Regions from separate parts of the Homo sapiens genome. Here regions 1 and 3 are each linked to region 2. Evidence: promoter capture Hi-C in 16 types of primary human blood cells and fetal thymus (Javierre and others, 2016). All regions are on one chromosome and are shown on one strand. Each heading gives the region's core, a stretch centred on a gene start or on the middle of the fragment in contact. The rest is flanking DNA. Distances are from core to core; before and after follow the strand shown.

Evidence for each region. Contacts are between HindIII fragments. The CHiCAGO score rates a contact against its expected background, and 5 or more counts as called.
Region 1: a fragment that was not itself captured here is called in contact with the fragment with the promoter of SIM1 in region 2 in 1 of 17 cell types (endothelial precursors); the score reaches 8.2 in endothelial precursors.
Region 3: a fragment that was not itself captured here is called in contact with the fragment with the promoter of SIM1 in region 2 in 1 of 17 cell types (endothelial precursors); the score reaches 7.0 in endothelial precursors.

The regions. Positions count from the first base shown.
Region 1 is chr6:100,287,738-100,290,590 of GRCh38, forward strand. No RefSeq gene overlaps it. Among named protein-coding and RNA genes, the nearest start is that of SIM1-AS1, 100 kb to the right of the region's middle. The HindIII fragment of the contact is 1,309 bases long and covers 678-1,986 here.
Region 2 is chr6:100,463,514-100,466,219 of GRCh38, forward strand. It overlaps SIM1 (SIM bHLH transcription factor 1), which reads right to left and starts at 1,408. Exons shown (of 12, transcript NM_005068.3): 1 at 1,101-1,408; 2 at 1-422. The HindIII fragment of the contact is 823 bases long and covers 1,290-2,112 here.
Region 3 is chr6:100,271,266-100,274,000 of GRCh38, forward strand. No RefSeq gene overlaps it. Among named protein-coding and RNA genes, the nearest start is that of SIM1-AS1, 120 kb to the right of the region's middle. The HindIII fragment of the contact is 1,669 bases long and covers 605-2,273 here.

The sequences.
Region 1 (2,853 bases), core at 82-2,581, 180 kb before region 2:
CACATCCAAATATACCACCTCTGATTTGCCAGTATGATATAATGGGTTCCCAGGTCTTTTAAAAATGCTAAGCCTGTATCTGGAAGAACTACCCATTTGTTGAGATGGTAATTGTTTTAACTTTGATGTCCTTCACTCTGCACATCTGTTTCAGCTCTTCTACCAGACACACTCACAAATTTATCATCTCTGCATGTGTTCCTACGTTAGGACTGCCTCAGTGGCAGAGTACAACAGTAAATTCCACGGATGTATTAAGTTTGTTAAGCAGGAAAGTAACTGGCTTTGTGGCCAGGATTTCTTATGACTCTGTCTCAAGACATGCTATAAAGGTTATCTGAGAAAATATTCTTGGATTCATCCATAAAGGACAGTATATATTACCTGGCCAATTCACAGTTACAGAATGATGAGGTACCAATATAGCAGTATTGTTACCTGATCTTACAACCTACAACAGCAGAAGTGGTTCTTTCTTAGTTACACAGCTTATTTTGTTGTCATCAAGCAAATTTTTCATTTCTTTCTGCCTAGAAGTCTAGGCCTTTTCTGCTATACCAAATTGCTTCCCTAAAACATTGGGTTCAAACCCTGGCCGTATTATTACTTATGTAGCCTTAGACAGCATACAGTTTTCTTATTTGTAAAATGGGCATAAAATAATACGAATCCCTCAAAGCTTTGTTGAGAATCCAGGGAACACATAACATAATAGTGTCTGATGTGCTTTATAAAACATGTTGATATGCATGACTCAGAGCTTATTTGGCTTTTATTGTATGTAGTGATATTTGAAGAGTAATAATTTAATCCACAGTAGAGATGAGTTCAGGCAATAGTAAGCTATATTTTAAAATGCTTTAGTTGTTCTTTAGAAAAGAGGATGACTTTTACAATATCTTATATAATCAAACTAGCTCTTAAATCTCAGACAGCGGGCGTTGCCCATGTAGTGGGACAGAGGCCTTTGCCTACTTTAGGCAGGAATAATGCTGGTACTAACATATTATATATTGTCTATATCAACTCCTTCTAAATACTTTTAGATGAAGTGTCTAAGAAATAAATTATGTCCATGTTGAGCTCTTAAACTTTTAGATATTTAAGGTTCCCTTTATTTCTGTTCATTTCTTACAACTATCCATGTAGGAGTAGCTCCCTCATATACCTCTCAAGCCTGAATCCCACTCTAGAAATTCAGAGTCCCATTTCTGATTCTATAGGACAATGTCCCCATAGGTCCCAGTGATTCCCCAAGTCAACATTTCCCCCCCACCAGTCCTTCCCCCAAAGACTTTTCATTAAAAAAATAATTGGATGTCTATGACATGAAACTTATATGGTATACAAGTTTGCATGCTGAGGGTCAGTCTAATAAAACAGCATTCTCACTAGGGGCATACAATGAAAAAGCAGAATCTTTGTTGTTAAAAATAATGAAAATTATTAGAAGAGTATAAGATTAAAAATTGTTCCTCCCTAATCCCACTATCCAGAGTTCATCATGTTTATCATGTTTTTCTTTTTGGATGCTTCTTATATTTTTAAGGTATTTTAAATACATATATGCATATAGAAATATTTTCTAATTTTTAAAAATTGAATGTTTTTCTATAGTTTGTATGCTTTCACTCACTATATTGTAGATATCTCTTCATGTTGGTGAATGTAGATACAGCTGTATTATTTGTATAATAGCTGAATCATAGTGTACCCAGTCTGCTACTGACAGGCATGTCAGTTGTTTTAGTGTTTTGCTGACAATGCTGAATGCTGCATGCCGTATAGACATCTCAGAACACTTACAGGGAATCATTCTGTGTGATAAATTCCTAAAACTACAATTACAGATGGAAGGATATGTGTATTTTTATCTTTACAAATACTGTCAAATTGCCTTGTAAAGAGTTTGTGCCGATTTATATTCCTTGAAACAATGTATGACCCCTTGTTTGCCCAAATACTAGCCAATACTCAGTATCATCAAGCTTTTAAACTTTTGTTTATTTGATAGAAAAAAATTAAAAGTACATTATTATTATTTTAATTTGAATGATTGCTATTGAGATTAAATACTTTTTCAATTGTTTGTAGCTTACTTATTCTTATTCAGTGACTTGCCACTTCATCTCCTTTCCCATGATCTGGGTGGCTTAATTATTTCTTCTGTATTGCTAGTAACTCTGGATTTATTATTTTTGTTAATACTCTAATTACTTGGCTAACACTTTTGTTAATTTATTATTTTTGTTAATCTGAGATACAGATTAGATAAATAGAAGCATAGATAAATTTATAGGTAGATAGATGATAGATTTATCATCTGTCATCAAATAGAGAAAGAAAAAGAAAGAGAAAGAAAGAGAGAAGGAAGAGAGGAAGAAAGAAAAGAGAGAGAGAAAAAAAGAGAGAGACAGAAAGAAATATTTTCTCACAGTTGTTTTTTAAATGTGTATGTATTGCTGCCTTTCCCATACAGAAGTTTTTAATTTTTAAGTAATAAAAACTGCCAGGTTTTTTTTATGGTTTCTAAATCTCATTTCTTACTGAGAAAAATCCTCCCCATACTAAGCTTATAAAAAATTCTACTCTGATTTTTCTAATAGTATTAGAGAAGTATTTTTTAGCTTTTTGATCTTTATTTGTTTTGCTAAAAGTTTTACTAAGTGCCTGAATACATAACCTGATTAACAAAGCACAATGTGAAATTTGCTTTTTTTGTAAATAAAATATGATTTTTGCAAATAATCTCACTAATTCCATATCACATGCAGATAGTTGTATTACATGAGATAAGGCAAATGAAAGTGCTTTATAAATAGCAAAACACAGAGGCTTTTTCTGCTAGTAACA
Region 2 (2,706 bases), core at 158-2,657:
TCATCCAAAACCAAAAATAAACTTTCAATTAGAGATCATATTTGGCAAAAACATAAAACATACTTTGAATAAAGAGGCTGAAGTATTTGCACCAAGAACAGTGTATTGATGGCAGTAAAAGACCAGCGGGGGTGAACGGAAAATATGTTCTTTGAAAATTCGGGATGCAGTATAGGAAAGTTGCTGATCCACCGAATTTGGGCGATCCACCGAATTTGGGCAATCCTGAGGGTCGTTCAGGGTATCAAATGCCAGTGGGACCCCTGAGGAGCCAGCCTTTTCTTCTACTGCCAGCTGCGAACCCTGGTCCTCGGAAAATCGACATAATAATCCCTGACGTTTGCTCTTCAGTCTCGCGGCATTTAAGGTATCTCCGAGCCCCTTTGGGAAGAGCAGGAACCCCAGACAACTCTTTCAAGGCCCTGTGAAGACAACAGCATCAGAGCATAAGAGATCAGCGGCTCCACAAGTACTCACACACTCGTCCCAATTCCAAAAACACGGCCGGAAAGGGCCTCAGTGCGCCTAGCCAGGCGTTTTGGGTTTGTTTTTAAAGAAACGGGTAAATCGGCAGCGAGACAGCCCCCTGCAAATAATGCTGGCATTCCCTCACCCATGCCAGCCGCATCCTCCAGACCCCTGGGAAGTTGCCCAAACAACAAAATACATATTTCTGAAGACCCGCAAGGGATCTTCCGCCGCGGATCCCCGAGTCCGCGCCCAGGCCGGGCGCACGTCCCAGGAAAGCAGGTTTCCGCAAATCAGAATTCCTCCAAGGCGAGGCAGGGGCCTTTCAGCTCCCTACCTTGGCAGATCTGGACCTTGGCTACCTCTTTAACTTGGGTCTCAAGTCTGAGGGATTCCTCAAAAAGTGACACTTACACACCAAGTCTCTCGGGACTCCCAAGGCGACCCAGCGCTCTGGCTGCCCAGCAGGGGCTGCAACAAGCGGGGCCCAGCAGCGCCAGGTTAACAGGTGGCGCGCTCGCGACAGCCCCTCGCAGGCTCCCCCGGGGGTGGGAGGCGCCGCGGCCTCTCCCACACCACCGCGGAGCTGCGGGGCTGCTGGGCGGGCGCGGGGCGTCTTCTGCTTCACCTACCTTCAGTCCCCACAAGCGGCAGAGGTTTCGGGGGCGCCCATCTCTTAACTGTTCTCATGCCTACCGTCCAACCCAGCGACACCGCCGGCCTCTCCGCTTCCCACCGGCAGAGAGGAGCAGAGCATTCCCGGCTCCCTTTTCTGGATCATGAATTGGAGGAGGGGTGCGTGGCAGAAAGAGGAGGATGCAAGCTTTGGGACGAGTGAGGTGATTTTAGAATCCTGGTCCTCCGTAGTTGCTACGAAGCCAGTTCACTATTATTCCTAATTGGAAGCCGAAAACTGCCCCCCGTAACTTCTTTATAGCTTAAGGGTTTAGCTTCAACTTCACTCCGGGGCCGCCTCTCTCCCGCCCTCCCTCAATGCCACTCACAAGCCCCCTCGCCTCCCATTGGCCTGGCGCGGCCAGGGGCGAGGCGCTCATTGGCCAATAGGGCTGAGTGACACGAGTCGGCCCCGAGCCGCCCTCCGCGCGCCCAGGCTCCGGGCTCTGAATCTTACTACCCGCGGGACCGCTGGACTCCTAATGAGCTCAGGGTGCCGGGTCGGCGCTGTCCGGTTGCCGCCGCTGCTCGCGGCCTCCTGGGCCTTCCCGACGTCGTGCGCGACCCGCGCTCCTCGAGCTCCCTGGGGTCGGGTGGTTGAGCGCTCAGTCCAGCGCGGCGGCCCAGCAGAACCGGGAACGTCCGGAGGCAGCGGAGGTCGGGCCTGCGGGTTAGGTCTACCGGCGGAGGAGGCAGGGTTCGCCCAAAGGCCCATCCCGCTGGCAGTCGCTGGCCGACGGCGTGCGCGAGGCCGGTTTGGGGAGTTATTTTCTCTTTCTCGTTTCTCTGAAACCATGGCGACACGGAATTCATTGCCAGAGGAAATAAATACAATAACTGTCTTTAAATTAATCCCAAAGAAGTGCGTCTTTTTCGAAATGGCTTGGGTTTGGGGCTGATTTTTTTCACCGTGGAAACTCGGCCGGGGAGTTTTCCTATGGGGAGCAGCTAGGGGGACACTAGGGGAAAAGCTTACATTTCAGGGCAAAATAGAATGATTGATATAGAGATACATAGCTCCCAACAGTCCTTTATCTTAAACATTAGCCAACTCTTTGTCGGGTTTTGTTTCAGGAAACAAAAGTCCAACATGATTATTCCTTACAGAAAGGATACAGTCTACATGAATGAACTTAACGATGCTCGCGGTTCCCTAATAGGAGCTGTTTAAACAAACGCTCACCAGGACTCTTGCTGACTAATTATCTTTTAGAGACCCTCTAATTTGAACCGCCTTCTCTTTCTCTCATCTGAGAAAACACAACAGGTAGCATCAAGAAAAAGTCAAATTGTCCCAAAAACAATTGTTGTCCTCACGAATCACCCCCTACAGACTCGACTCCCGGCTTGGTTTTGGTACGCCGGTGACCAGATTCGGCTCCTAGAGGTGCGTTTGGAGGGAGTTGTTTCATCTACCATAAAAATCAGTGAGAACACCAGTGACGGGGCACTCATCCTCTCGTTTGTGGCGCTAATTGCCACTGAGAAAATAAATACTTTGAAGAGGGGTGTGTGCCATTCTGCTGATATTCAGAACAACTTTAAGAGTGTTTGTTCAAAAAT
Region 3 (2,735 bases), core at 189-2,688, 190 kb before region 2:
ATTTACATTCTAGTGCAAAAACAAGAAGAAAAAAATAAACATAAGTAAAGTGAATTATAAATATGCAAGAAAGTAATAAGTGCTATAAAAAAAAATAGGACCCAGTGATTCATGTCTTCAATCCCAGCACTTTCGGAGGCCGAGTTGGGATACTTGTTTGTGGCCAGGAGTTCAATACTAGTCCAGATATAAAAAACGAGGCCTCGTCTCTACAAAAAATTAGCCAAGCAAGGTAGCCACAAGGTAGTACACTCCAGCCTGACAGGGTGACACTAGCTCTTGTAACCATGATTAACCACCAACATTAACCTTGTTCATTCCCTCAAAAGTATGGTATTGAAAGGGTCCATGTAATTTTAAACTTTCTTTTCCTGCAAAAGAATTTCCTTATTTTGGGGGGGAAATTTTATGAGCATTTATCTCCACTTTTAATTGTCTCCTCTGAGAAGTCGAAGTATTGGAACTTGGGCTATTTGCAAGAAGGCTCTTAGCTATTTTACACTTGAACCACTGGAAAGATAAAGTCTGTCATCAGCCACAGTATCTTCCCAGAACAGAGACATGAGGTTAACACCCATGGGCCTACCAGTTACCCTGACATGCAAGCTTGTCTGAATTCCATATAATGAATTTGAAGTGAGCTTTTAAGGTGACTGCTGCACAGGGCCTAGGTCATTTCTAGGTGAAAGTACCAAAGAGATGGAGACAGAGGCACTCACCCGTCCACAGTTACCAGATTGTGAATGTCAGTTCTTAAGCAAAAGGAAAGCGTCTGAAGACTCAGAGAAATTCATTCTGGTCAAATTTGTGGATTTTTTTTTCCATACATTTATTTTTAAAAATCATAATTCTGGGATTCTGAAGCCATCCTCACCATTTTTTAGGCTCTGGGGTGGAATGGGGGAGATGTATAAACACACGTATTTATTTGTCTGTTTTTAAAATTCAGTTTGTTTATTGTTATTTAAAAAACAAAACAGTAAACAGAAAACTGGGTGCTCATCCCAGCTCTTACCTCTAATTTCTGATATCTTAAGTAACTCTGAATCTCTGAATCTCAATTTCTCAGCAGTAATAACAAGTCAATATCCTACCTACACTGAAATCTTGATGTACAAATAAATGAGAAATCCTGGAAAAGCTCTGCAAAAACTACAATATGAATGTATAGTATTCTAATAATTAAATCTTCACCATAACACTCCACAAATACTCCCCAGTTAAATGGGCTCTTGAGGACTTGCAGGGGCAGCCAGTAACCAATCCACCTTATTTTTCTAGTTAAAAAAAAGTTTTAAAAGTTATTTTCATTTAATTATTTCATTTTTTCTTTTAATTTGAATTAGTCATAAGATCTTAAAAAAAAGTACAGTCATATACTGCATAATAACATTTTAGTCAACGATAGACCGTGTATACAGTAGTAGTCCCTTAAGATTACAATGGAGCTTAAAAAAGGATGAGTTCATGTCCTTTGTAGGGAAATGGATGAAGCTGGAAACCATCATTCTGAGCACACTATCGCAAGGACAGAAAACCAAACACCGCATGTTCTCACTCATAGGTGGGAATTGAACAATGAGAACACTTGGACACAGAGTGGGGAACATCACACACCAGGACCTGCCGTGGGGTAGGGGGAGGGGAGAGGGATAGCATTAGGAGAAATACCTAATGTAAATGACGAGTTAATGGGTGCAGCACGCTAACATGGCACATGTATACATATATAACAAAGCTGCACATTGTGCACATGTACCCTAGAACTTAAAGTATAATAAAAAAAAAAGATTATAATGGAGCCGAAAAATTCCTATCTCTTAGTGACCTCATAGCCATTATAACACTGTAGCACACTTATTGTGAGTGTAACTCACTAGAGGACGCTGGTGTAAACAAATCTACTGCCCTGACAGTCATATAAAAGTCTAGCACATACAATTTTGTGTAGTACATAATACTTGATCATAATAATAAACAACTATGTTACTAATTTATGTATTTACTATATTATCCATTTGTCATTATTTTAAAGTGTACTCCTTCTACTTGGAAAACAAAAAGAATGAACTGTAAAACAGCCTCAGGCTGGTCCTTCAGGAGATATTCCAGAAGAAGTCTTTCTTATCATAGGAGATGACAGCTCTATGTGTGTTAGTTAACTCTGAAGACCTTCCAGTGGGACAAGATGTGGAGGTAGAAGACAGTGTTATTAATGATCTTGACCCTGTGCAGGCCTAGGCTAATTGTGTGTTTTATTAAAAATAGAAAAAAGCTTATAAAATATAAAGCTTTTTATAGGATATAAAGAAAAAAATATTTTTGCACAGTTGAAATGTGTTTGGGTTTTAAGCTAAGTATTATAGGAGTCAAAAAGTTAAAAAAAATTTAAAACATTTGTAAAGAAAAATTGTTACAGTAAGCTCAGGTTAATTATTATTGAAGAAATAACATTTTTAATAAATTTAGTATAGCCTGATTGTACAGTGTTTATAAAGTCTACAGTAATGTAGAGTAAGGTCCTATGCCTTCATGTTCACTCAGCACTCACTCACTGGCTCACTCAGAGCAATTTCCAGTCCTGCAAGCTCCATTCATGGTAAGTGCCCTATACAGGTGTAACATTTTTTATATTACATTTTTATTTACATTTTGTATGTTTAGATACACAAATACTTACCATGGTGTTACAATTTTCTACAGTATTCAGTACAGTCACATGCTGTGCAGGTTTG